3 separate regions of the Homo sapiens genome follow, and regions 2 and 3 are each linked to region 1. Evidence: promoter capture Hi-C in human tissues and cell types (Jung and others, 2019). All regions are on one chromosome and are shown on one strand. The core of a region is centred on a gene start or on the middle of the fragment in contact, and the rest is flanking DNA. Distances in the headings are between cores, read along the strand shown.

The links. The method cuts DNA at HindIII sites, captures the fragments that hold promoters and counts their contacts. A contact is called where the count stands out against the background at its distance.
Region 2: a contact is called between a fragment that was not itself captured here and the fragment with the promoter of SLC41A2 in region 1, in 1 of the 25 tissues and cell types used here (mesenchymal stem cells).
Region 3: a contact is called between a fragment that was not itself captured here and the fragment with the promoter of SLC41A2 in region 1, in 1 of the 25 tissues and cell types used here (spleen).

Annotation. Positions count from the first base shown.
Region 1 is chr12:104,956,842-104,960,727 of GRCh38, forward strand. SLC41A2 (solute carrier family 41 member 2) reads right to left here and starts at 1,449. Exons shown (of 11, transcript NM_001352171.3): 1 at 1,247-1,449. RefSeq lists silencers at 838-1,167, 1,358-1,627. The HindIII fragment of the contact is 10,569 bases long and covers 1-2,839 here.
Region 2 is chr12:104,612,650-104,617,089 of GRCh38, forward strand. The region is part of intron 2 of CHST11 (carbohydrate sulfotransferase 11); the gene reads left to right. Among named protein-coding and RNA genes, the nearest start is that of MIR3922, 23 kb to the left of the region's middle. The HindIII fragment of the contact is 4,840 bases long and covers 1-4,440 here.
Region 3 is chr12:104,517,508-104,521,985 of GRCh38, forward strand. All of the region lies in intron 1 of CHST11 (carbohydrate sulfotransferase 11), which reads left to right. Among named protein-coding and RNA genes, the nearest start is that of CHST11, 63 kb to the left of the region's middle. RefSeq lists an enhancer at 2,943-2,992. The HindIII fragment of the contact is 9,493 bases long and covers 1-4,478 here.

The sequences.
Region 1 (3,886 bases), core at 199-2,698:
ACCACAAAGAGATACCATTCCACACTCACTACGATGGCTATCATAAAAAATAACCAGTAAAAAAGTAACAAGCCTTGGGGAAGATGTGAAGAAATCGGAACCCTCATACACTGCTTAGTGGGAAAGTAAAATGGTACAGCTGCTTTGCTTGGCAGTTCCTCAAAAAGTGAAACACGGAGCAATTGCCCTCCTAGGTATATACCCAAGAGCACTGAAAACACATGTCCACAAAAACGTGTAAACAAATGTGCATAGCAGCATTACACACAATGGCCAAAAACTGGAAACAACCCAAATGTACATCAACTGATGAATAAACAAATGTGGTACACTGATACAACAATATTAATATGCTATAAAAAGTAAAGTACTGATACATACTACATGAGTGAAACTTGAAAACATTACAGTATGTCTTTCGACGCCAGACACAAAAAGCCACATATTGTACGCTTCCATTTATATGAGATTTCCACAACAGGCAAACCCATATAAACAGAAAGTAGATTAGTGGTGGCTAGTGGGGTGGGGTCAAGGGGAAATGAGGAGTGATTACTAAGAGAGACAGGGTTTCTTTTGGGGATGATGATCTGGATAGTGGTCATATTTGGAAAACTCTGTGAATATATTAAAAGCCACACTTTAGAAGAATGAGTTTTATGGCATGTGATGTATATCTCAATTTAAAAATTGTCACTACAAAAAAAAGATGACATATATACGTAATATACACATCAATGTATATCGGTAACACATAGATATGTGTCATCTCTCTCTGTAAATGAGCATTTGGGCTTTTAAATTTGAGATATGCTCCGTGTATATAAAGAGAAGAATGAAAGAAAAGGGTGACGGGGCACTCGCGGAGCCCTGAACAGGCATCTGGGGTGTGCCCGAGCCAGCCTCGCAGCATCTCCATCCCAGCTCACCTTCAGCCATCACTCATACACCACCCGCCGCCTGTCCCTGCCTTGGGCGCCCGGGACCGCTTGTCCGCGGTGGCCGCGGAACAGCTTCCCTCAGCCCGAGGTGGGGCAGGCGCGGGGGCCTGGGCTCGGGCGCTGCCCGGCGGCCCGGAGAGGCGTCCGCAGGGGGCACGGCTGCTCGGGCGGGGCCGCTCCCTCTGCTCCCCGCGCCCCCGCCGCCGGGTCCCGAGCCCAGGCCTCTCGGCCCCACCTCCCTCCCGCACCTGATGCGCCCGAACGCGGCGCCGCGGCCGAAGCCGAGACTTCCCCTCCATGGTCACCTGTTCCGGAGCGCGGCGGCGGCAGCGGCCGGTGTGAGAAGGGTCCCCGTCTCCTCAGACCAGACCGAGACACCAGGGGCGGGGGATGGAAGGGGCATTCACCTGGTGCCCGGCACCGGTGGTGGCGGGGAGGACAGCGGCTCCCAGCCCACAGCTCCTTCCTGCTCCCGCGCCTCCTCGCGCGGCTGCGGCCCCAAGCTGACAGCCCGGCCGTCGGCGCCCGCGGCCCCCTGACTCCCCGCCGCCCCGCCCCCGCGCGGCAGCCCCGCGCAAGCGCAGCCGCGCCGCCGCCGGGGAAGCCCGGGCCTTGGTGATGTGGCCCGCGGGGCGGCGACCCGGAGCGACAGCACCGCCCCGCCCGGACCCCGGCCGCGCCCTGGCAGACAGCTGTCGGGAACGGGGGCGCTGGATGACGGCAAGGGGGCAGTTTTCTGGGGAGCCTGCCCAGGAGAGAAGGGCTGTGGCCTCCTTCGGCATCCCTCTTCCCCACCAGCCCACGCACGCCCACTTCACCGCCTGCTCCAAGGTCCGAACCCCCGAATCCATGACTCATGATTTCTCTTCTCAGACCAGCGGCCTCTTTTTGGCTGAGGTCATGTTTCTTGCAGACTGGAGTTAAAACCGAACCACGTGTCTTTCGGCCCAGCAGCGCATAGTGTGGGCGGTGCAGGAGCCGAGACGGGCAGGAACCACCGCAGGAGGGGGTGAGGTTTAGGGCAGCCCCATAGCACCCTCCCCGTGCCAGGCAGGTGTAGGCGCCAAGCGCATGGGGCGCTGAAGAGTTGGCTGGGGTGCCAGGCTTTTCAAGTTTCCCCACACTTGCTTTTAAACCTAGATCAAACTGATCCAAAGTCTGCATGTAAATCCGAGAGCTCATTTATTTTATTTACAAAACTATTGAGCATCTACTGTGTATGATTCAGGGAATGAGACACACCCCAGGGATACTCCAGTGAACAAAAGAAAGGTGTTGGTCCGAAGACAGTTATTTTAAAAATTACACAGCTAATGCCATAATGCCAGGATTGGTGGCTCATGCGTGTAACCTCAACACTTCGGGAGGACCAGGCGAGAGGATCGCTTGAGGCCAGGAATTTGAGACCAGCCTGGGCAAACACAGCGAGACCTGGAGTGGCTAGGAGACTGAGGTGGGAGGATCGCCTGAGCCCAGGAGTTCAAGGCTGCAGCGGGCTATGATCGCATCACTGCACTCCAGTCTGGGCCACAAAATGAGACCTTGTCTCTAAAACAACAACTCAAAATTACACAGCTAATGATACTCTTTTCCTCAAATCAAAGCTTCTACCAATTCCAAGCCACACCAGTGATTTAGTAGCAGCTTTTCTGGTGCTGAAGGACACCAGCATACATTTATCCATGTTCTTTTTTTTTTTCCTTATGCTTTGCGATCAGACTTTGAGCTTTAACCTTAACCTTCAGGGTGAAGGGTGCTTCGGTATCACTCTTGGCCATCTGCAGTCATGCTTTTTATAATGACTCATCCTGGTGTTCCTCACCACCTAAAAATGAAAGTATAATTGCAAGGAATATGGAAAAGCAGTGTTTTGACTGCATTTCCAGCTGGTTTTTGTTCTGGTTGTTTTTTGAATTACAGATCATTAGAAAGTAGCTGCTCTTGAAAGTTTGGCAGAAGTTCCACCCAATATGTGTTCCTCCCCTGAGTGTGTAGTCTTTCAAGATTTCTACACAAAGCATATACAGAAGCCAGCCTGTCTTGGTTTTGAAAATTCTTCCACCATTTTTTTCTGAGAGAGCTGGTGGTTTCTACCGTCCTTCAGAGCATTACATGGCATGTGGCAGGCAACCTTCTACTTACATTCTTCATTCAGTACCGCAAAGTAGTGTGTACTTTGGAGATATGTTAAGCTTCAAGTTGGAATCCAAATTTAAATCAAATTTCAGCCCTGAAAATAACTCACATTGGAATCGGGCGAGGAAATGCCCCCTTGTAAAAAACTGGGTCCTAATGGGTGCAGACAACAACAATCCCATTTCTACTTCATCTCCCGTCTGACAGCTGGCAACTTCAAATGTGAAGCAAGTGGCTTGGACTTGAGGCTGTGTGGTGATGCTGTTGTGATTGCTGGAAAAAAGCCTGAGAGTTATGAGAGTGTATAACAAAGGAGCGTGTCTGTGCTAGGGGGTAAGAAAGATCTCCTGGAGGAAGTGACATTTAATCTCAGCCTTGAAGAATAAGGAGGAGTTAGGGCAGGCAACATAGAGAAGGGGGTGGGGTGGGCAGTGCATTTAGCTGTGGAAACTGCAGGTTTGAAGGCCCTTTGGTAGGAAGAGGCTCTGTCTGTGAAGGCTTTGGGAAAAGGCCACTGTGCTTAGACTGAGAGAGCTACCTGGGAGGGAGAGGTGGGCGGGCCCTTGAGGGTCAGGTTAAGGACTTTGGATTTAATCCTAAAGACAAAAGAAGCCAATGAAGAGTTGAAAAGGTCCTATCTGGACATGAAAAATTGCATTTGTAAAAGATGATCCTGGATGCAGTGGCTCACACCTGTAATCCCAGCACATTGGGAGGCTGAGGTGGGAGGATCACTAGAGGCCAGGAGTTTGAGACCAGCCTGGGCAACATTGCAAGACCCCCATCTCTACAAAAATAAAATAAAATTA
Region 2 (4,440 bases), core at 1,117-3,616, 340 kb before region 1:
CTTTTGAGATAAAAGTCCTTCTGTTAGCAAAGATAAAGGATCAGGGTTGGCAGGGACATGGAGAAGAGGGAACTCCTGTGCACTGTTGGTGGGAATGTAAATTGGTACAGCCATTATGGAAAACAGTATGGAGGTTCTCCAAGAAATTAAAAACAGAACTACCATATGATCCAGCAATCCCACTTCTGGGTGTATGCCCAAAGGAAGTGCAAGCAGCATCTGAAACAGACACCAGCACTCTCACTGTAGCAGAGTTGCAGCATTGTTCACAACAGTAAGATACGGAATCAGGCTGGGCGCGGTGGCTCATGCCTGTAATCCCAGCACTTTGGGAGGCTGAGGCAGCCAGATTGCTTGAGGCCCAGGAGTTTGAGACCAGCCTGGGCAACATGGCAAAACCCTGTCTCTACAAAAAATATAATAAAATTAGCCAGGCATGGTGGCACGTGCCTGTAGCCCCAGGTACCCGAGAGACTGAGGGAGGTCAGGTTGAGGCTGCAGTAAGCCATGATCATGCCACTGCTCCCCAGCTTGGGGAGACCCTGTCTCAAAAAGAAAAAAAAAAGATACAGAATCAACTTACATGTCCATCAATGGATGAATGGATAAAGAAAATGTGAGTGAGATAGATAGATAGATAGATATAGATATATAGATACATATAAAAGGAATGTTATTTAGCCTTAAAAAAGAGGGAAGTTTTCAGCCCTTGGTTACAACATGGGTGAACCTGGGGGGACTGATATGGTTTGGATTTGTGTCACCCCCGTCCCCAAATCTCATGTCGAATTGTAGTCCCCAGTGTTGGAGGAGGGACCTGGTGGGAGGTGATTGGATCATGGGGTGGATTTCCCCCTTGCTGTTCTCATGATAGTGAGTGAGTTCTCATGGGAATTGGTTGTTTGAAAGTGTGTAGCACCTCCCCCTTCTCTCTCTTCCTCCTGCTCTGGCCATGTAAGATGTGCCTGCTTCCCCTTCGCCTTCTACCATGATTGTAACTTTCCTGAGGCCTCCCCAGCCATGCTTCCTGTACAGCCTGTGGAACCAATGAAACCTCTTTTCTTTGTAAATTACTCAGTCTCAGGTAGTTCTTTATAGCAGTGCAAGAATGGACTAATACAGGGACAGTATGCTAAGTGAAATAAGCCAGGCACAGAAAGACAAATACCGCATGATCTCACTTATATGTAGAATCTAAAAAGGTTGAACTGGTAGAAGCAGAGAGCAGAATGGTTACCAGAGGTGGTGAAAACAGGGAGATGTTGGTCAAGGGGTACAAAGTTTCATTAGATAGAATGAATAAATTCTGGAGATCTAATGCACAGCTTGATGACTATGGTTAATAATAATATATTGTAGACTTGAAATCTGCTAGGAAAGCAGATCTTAAATGTTCTGACTACACGAAAAATGATAACTATGTGAGGTGATAGATGTGTTACTTAGCTTGATTGTGGTCATCACTTTCACTATCTATCTCTCTATCTAAGCATCATGTTGTATACCATGAATATATATAATTTTTATTTGCCAAATTAACCTCAATAAGTCTGGGGAAGTTTGTGCTCTAATTGGGGTGTCAAGCCAGTAAACTGACTGACCATTATAAAATGAGGTCCTGGCCAGACGCAGTGGCTCATGCCTGTAATCCCTACACTTTGGGAGTCTGAGGTGGGAGGATGACAAGAGTTTGAGACCAGCCTGGGCCAGATGGCAAGATCCTGTCTCTACAAAAAATTTAAGAATTAGCTGGGCATGGTGTTGTGCACCAATTGTTCCAGCTGACTCGGGAGGCTGAGACGGGAGGATCCCCTGAGCCCAGGAATTCAAGGCAACAGTGAGCTATGATTGTGCCACTGCTCTCCAGCCTGGTTGGATTTTTTTTTGATTAAAAAAATTTAAAAAATTATAAAATGATGTCCTATATGAGTTTAATACATGACGTTGGAGGAGCATAGAGATAGACCTAGACTAGGCATGTGTATGTGTGTGTGTGCATGTGTGTATGCATGCATGCTTATGCATGTGTGTGTGCATGCATGCTTGTGTGTGTGTGTGTGTGTGTGTAGAGCCTTGGTCATCCCGACAGAGCAAAGACACAGGAGGGTGGCACACGGAAGAACAAGTGACTCCACCCTCCCTTGCACAGTTAAAATCTGGCCAAGGTGAGAGGGGAGATGGGAGAGGGGAGAGGGGAGAAAGGAGAAGAGGCACTGACTGGAGGGGCTGAAGCTTTGTCCCTCCTGGGCAGGCGTTCTCCATCCACACCCCTCTTCTTGGATAGAGAGGATAAGCAGGCCAAAGATGCACGAAACCTGAGTTCCACTGTAGCTCCAGACTTCTAGAAAAGTCAACAGCCCCTGTATCTCTAGCTGATCCTCTGTTGTTCAATGTCTGCATTACCGCACTGGGAGACACTTGACAGATTGGGCCTGCCGCAGGCCATAGCAGACATTGGGCAGCCCTAGAACGAAGCTGACCGTCCTTGGAATGTGCCACAGGGGTGTGACGCCCCGGCCAACTCCAGTGCTGCCTAAAATGGCCTCTTGCAACATTCCCCTCTCTTCATCTTAAATCAGGGACTTGAAGCCACAAAATGGCAAATACACAGTTCTGGCAGTCGTTTTGAGTATTGGAGAAATCGCTCTGGCCATCTGTTTTGTCTCCAGCATGTTTCTCACGGAATATCCACGGATATATCCATGGATATAACAGACATCCTGCCAAGGCAGAGCTTGGCTCTTGAGAACTCGGCAAGCTCAGTGCTTGCCTGGATTCCTGCCTCATGTCCCATCCAGTGTTTGGAGAAAAGCTCTGAGAGAAAGATGAATGTCTGAGGCCACACAGCCTAGAAGTAGTCAAGAGCACAGGCTCTAGAACTAGCCCCACGTGGGCTGAAATCCCAGCACCAGCGCCTGCCGGCTGTGTGATGTAGGAGAGCTTCTTACCAGCTCTGTGCCTCACTTGTCTCACTTGTAAAATGAGAATAAGAATTGGCCGGGCTCGGTGGCTCACGCTTGTAATTCCAGCACTTCGGGAGGCTGAGGTGGGCAGATCACTTGAAGTCAGGAGTTCAAGACCAGTCTGGCCAACATGGTGGAAACCCCGTCTCTGCCAAAAATACAAAAATTAGCCAGGCGTGGTGGCGGGCACCTGCAGTCTCAGCTACTCAAAAGGCTGAAGCAGGAGAATCGCTTGAACCTGGGAAGTGGAGGCTGCAGTGAGCCAAGATCACACCACTGCACTGCAGCCTGGGTGACAGAGCAAGACTCTGTCTCAAAATAAAATAAAATAAAAATCAAAGAATAGCCCCTACCTTATTCTCTTTTGTGAGAATTTGATGAATCCGGACATGTGAAGTGCTCAGAAAGGTGTCTGGCACCAAGTGAAGGCTGTTTGCTATTTGCTGTTGTTATTGTTACTCAGGCACAAAGGCAGAGAGGAGCAAATGGTCCCTGGGAGCAAATGAGCAGGTGGAGGCTAAGATCACTTGGACAATGGAACTCCATCGTCTGCCGGATAATCTGCCATCATCTTATAAATCCACTATGTCTAAAAGAAACACCATCTTTTAGTGCAGGGGTTCACAGCTTTGGCTGTACTTTAGAAGCAAAAAAGGAAATTTAAAAAATTGCAATGCTCAGTCCACCCAATCAGTATTTTCTATAAACCCTCAATGAACAACCAAGTTTGAGAACCACCTCTCTAGGTTTTTCCTACTCAAAGACAGATCCAGGGACCAGCAACACTGACACACTTGGGAGCTTATTAGAATTACAGAATTGGCCCCCACCCCAGCCTGCCAAAGGGAAACTACATTTTTTTTTTTTTTTTGAGACGGAGTCTCACTCTGTCGCCTAGTCTGGAGTGCAGTGGCGCAATCTTGGCTCACTGCAACCTCTGCCTCCCGGGTTCAAGCGATTCTCCTGCCTCAGCCTGCTGAGTAGCAGGGACTACAGGCGCACACCACCACGCCTGGCTAATTTTTGTATTTTTAGTAGAGGCAGGGTTTCACCACATTGGCCAGGATGGTCTTGATCTCCTGACCTCATGATCCACCTGCCTTGGCCTCCCAAAGTGCTGGGATTACAGGCATGAGCCACTGTGCCCGGCCAGGAAACTTTTTAACAGACTCCCAGGTGGTCTGCACAATCATTAACTGGACAAGCCTTCTTAGAGCCTGGGAGGCCCTAGAAGAAGCAACCCTCAAGTAGGTTAGGTCACAAAGGACGAGTGGTCCCAGAGTTTGTGTAGATTGCTGAGACGGGACACCAGAAGAGGCCCTGACCTCTCTTGGAAGGTAGCATGCTTCTGCTTCCAGAAACCCTGGAAAATAAAAGGCCGTGTTTATGCAGCTGTGGAGTACTAGTCCGTGGCAGGGAGCTGGAGTCCCAAGGTGGGCCAGATGGATGTGCAGCCTCTCGGTCTCTCTGGATGCAG
Region 3 (4,478 bases), core at 561-3,060, 440 kb before region 1:
GAATTCCCTGGGGTTGGAGTTAAGTTGCAGGTTGTGATTCCATAGGCCTGGCCTGGGGTCTGATCCTGCATTTGTAACCAGCTCCCGGGTGATGATGTGGAGGTGGGTGTCCTCTGGCCACACTGAAGTCCCTAGTTCTAGATGCCATCACCCTCACCCTACTTCAGAGGCTGTACCAAATTCTTAGAAGAGAAATTTTGCCTCAAAAGCGACCTGGGAACCTGACCTCAGGAAGAATTTCATCTCTGTGGGAATGTGGAATCGGAGTGATAGAGGTGAATGACAAGGATGTGGTGTTCCTTAAGCTGACTCCTGATGAGCTTGGCGAAATGAAGCCAGACATTTTATAATTGGTCCCTTTTCTTTGTGTAGTGTCTAACACTTTTTGAATACCTACTGCATGTCAGTGCCTTTTCCCACTGAGGATCGTACTGGATAACTTTGGATCTAAGGTCGCTTTGGCAGTGAGAAGTTCCCGCCTCTGAGTCAAGACCACCTTTGAGTCCAGAAATGGTGGCTCACGCCTGTAATCCCAGCACTTTAGGAAGCTGAGGTGGGAGCTTGGCCCAGGAGCTCAAGACCAGCCTGGGCAACATAGTGAGACCCTTACTTGACAAAAAAATAAAAAAATTAGCCAGGCGCAGTGGCACGTGCCTGTAGTCCCCGCTACGTGGGAGGCTGAGGCGGGAGGATTGCTTGAGCCCAGGAGTTCAAGACTGCAGTGAGCCATGATTGTGCCACTGCACTTCAGCCTGGGTGAGAGAGCGAGACCCTGTCTCAAAAAAATAAACATAAAAATAAAGACCACCTTTGAGTTAGCAAGTATGACAGGAGCGCGTGAGTAGGAAGGAGGGAAGATTCGGATGATACACATGTTATCATGCTGTATTTCCTTCACTAATTATATGGGCTCGGTAAGGGATATTCAGAGGTTGTCAGTTGCCTTTGTGCCAGATTCAGTTGGACTCTGATAAAGACCTAGGCAAATACGATGTCTGTGCACCGTGTTCTGGGAAGCACTTTGAAGGACCCCGGGCAGATTCACTGGCATAGTTAATACACCCCGGACTTTCCCTCGCCCTGCATATGGTGGCTTATGAGAAGAAAGCGAAGACTAGAAAATCATTTGTGTGTCACTTTGCAGGAAAAACACTTCAGGTAATGAGACAGGATTTGAGTGGGAAGGTGATTATAACCAACCCTTCATTCATTTTCTACAAAATAGTCAACATGCAGTCTTCCAAGCTGCATAATGAATATAGCATCCTTTAGCTGGGGATGTTGGGAGGATTTATTTTTTATCTGTGATCCAATATTAATTTGCCTTAAACAAAAGAAGCAATTTACTGTGTAATTCTGAGGTTTATGGTGTTTCTACTAAGTCCTTTCATCTTTGAAAGATGGTGTTATGCATTTTAATAGAAACCATTTTTTTCTTAAAATCTTTTCTTTTTCTTTTTTTCTTTCTTTTTTTTTTTTTTTAACTCTTTCTTCTCTTCAGTCGGATTATAGAGTTGGAGCAAATGTCATGATGAACTTTGAGGCCTAGGCCTGGACTCTTGAGGTGTGTGTGTGTGTGTGTGTGTGTGTGTGTGTGTTTCTTTCTCCATAATAGTCCCAACCCTAAACAGGGGTATGGCACAGTACTTCTTATGAACAAAAGTGCTATTGGTCTACAAGGGGACTTGAGCCTGCACTAATTGTATTTGATTAGGATTTTTGTGCTGTCTGTATGATGTTTAACCACACTGTCAATTACAGACTTCCTTTAAGGAATTTCCAGGAAACCCCCTTACCATAAGAGTTTAAATTAATAGTTTGCTAGTTTAATGACAGCAGTTGGTAAAGGAAGCACCTTTCAGACCATTAGCTAAAGCCAACTTCCTTTAAACTTAAAGGAGGGCACAGCATGATAGATGGAGATCTGCCCCAGTGCGTCATCATAAATGCCTCGAGGCAGCCACAGGATGGGTTTTGACCTCAGTGGGGATAGGTTTGGTTAGAGGGTTGGGTAGAACCCCCTAACCTGTAGAAGAATCTAGAAAAGTGAGATGAACGCCTTTCTCTTAAGGCTGTCACTTGTCCAATTCCAACTCCCTCTTTAGTAACCACCTCCCTGCCTCCCAGCGAAGTGACCCCAGGGAGCCGGTTATTATGGCCCTGCTTGATGGATAATTACTGGTTGAGGCTTGATTTGACACCAGCATTTTGCATGATAGCCTGTTAGATTTGCTTGGCTCAGATTGATATTTTCATTCCTCTAAGGCTGCAGCATGGAAACATGGTTGAGTGGGGTTTGCCAAGATGGGATGATTTCCTGTGCTGTGGCAGGACCAGGACAGCTGTTCTGAGAACTGTTTCGGCAAAGCCTTCACAGTTGGTTTTGTTGAAGGCTTTTCTGCAGGTGCAGGGTTGGTTCCTAAAGGACAGTAGTCTGGTTTTCCTAGGAAACTACTTATGGAGAGTGCGTGTGTTTAATTTAGGAGGCACAGCTGTGCAAGGGACTGGGACTCCATCAGGGAACGGGGTGCAGGAGCTCCATGTTCCTTATGTCTTAGCTTCATTCCTAGTTGCTGGCGTCGGAACTGATCAAAGTTGTCTGTTGTCTTTCTGCACACCCATGCTACAGGCAGTAAGGGATGAGGCAGCAAAACCAGTTCACTGCTCATCAGCTGGGGAGGCTTCAGGACAGTCTCTGAACTACTGAGCATTAGTTTCTTTATCTGTCCAATGGGCCCAATGGCACCTGCTCTGCTCATCTCTCAGGATCTTACATGCCACATAAGCTAATGGAGAAGTAAATGCTTTATAAGCCTAAAGGAATGGACATGGGTGCATTCAGTGAGAGGCAGTAGGACTAATGGTTAGTGATTAGTTTGCTAAGTAGGAGCAGCAGTTGTTAGTGTAAGAAGGGCGGGTTAGTACATGGGTGGTGGTCAGGAGGAGCACCACTGCTGCTGCTACTTAGCCACTTGTGTAACCTTTTTTTTTAAACAAAACAAAACAAAAAAAAACAAACCTCTCAGTCTGCTATAGGATAGATTGTTCCAGCATCTGAAATTGCAAAGCACTTCTTGAAGGGGATTCTTAGGATGGCGTAATTTTGTTCACTCATAGGATCTTCTTCCTGGGGCATGATCCTAGCCATGTTCAGGATAAGCCCTGAGCATCAAGCTGGTGCAGTGAAGTGTTCTGTGGCTGGAGGCTAAATCTGTCCCAGGCTCACAGCATGGGAGCGGGGATGGCAGGGGCTTTTGAATTCCCTTGAGGGCACTTGGCCTTTGCTTGTATCTGCTCAGGAAGTCAGACAGTCTGCAGCCAGTGGCGTGTGCAGCCACCCCTTCTGTTCTCTGACCCTGGAGGCTTGTGGTCCATTTGTTTTAAAGGTGACTGTCTGATATTCCTTTGGAATACGTGAGTCCGGTGGGAAAGAATAGAACATATTCTGAATCTTAATGGTGGATTTAAAAAATCTATTTAGAGAATCTGAGCACTTAATTAGACATGTCTTTTTTTCCCCAGCTGCCCTAATTAAATAGTAATCATAATAAGGATAAGGATAATAGTTGATCTCAGTATCCTGTCTCCCAGTGAAGTTGCTCAATACATATTTGTAGATGAATGACTTGGAGATCCAAAGGAAGGTTCAGAGATTTGCCATTGTATTCGAGTCTACCCTGGTGGGACCTTTAAGGTGAACATTCTTCTTCTCTGGGCCTCCACCTTTTCCCTTCCCATATAACTATTTTCTCCTTATCTGCATGCTTTTCTGCAATGCATATCCGCAACAGGTGAGCCTGGGTGAATATGATTACATGCAGGTTGGTTTTTCTCCCTTCTTTGTGGTCCGCGTTTTGGGATTAAATCCCCCTGCAGACTTTTGTCTGGTCAGCCTGGTTGTGACTGTGGATCTTGGTTTCGTATACTGTCAGAGATGGCAAGGAATTCAAAGATGATGTCGTTTTACGTCTTTATTTTATAAACTCGGGCCCAAAGTGAAATGACTTGCCCAAGAATACACTGAGTGAGTGAGGTGGTCATAGAGAGCTAGCTCTCCTGACGCTTAGCTCAGACCTAATTCCAGGAAGGTGACTGCATCTAGCTTCTGCCCCAACACATCCTGGGAAGAAATGGTATCCTGCTAAGAGAATGAGGGCTGGATGGAGGTGTCCTGCGTAACGGTGTCAAAGTACTTCACTCTGTCCTCTGGGGATCCCACAGTGATTCTTTGATTCTATGCCCACTGAGGAAAAGTTGATTTGAGTCTACTCCACTGTTTGATTGAAATGGGCCTCTTCTGTCCCCAGCCTGGTGAGTCGTATCTTGTTTCCCTGCCAGTGGGCATTTTCTGCCTTTATCCCCGCTCATGGCTGCTGAATGGGTCACCCAGGCTGGGGCAGGCTGAACTACAGGCTAATGAAATTGTTTGGCCTAGTTCCTGCTTGGTGGTGAAATCTCAGACAGGATCTTATCACCCT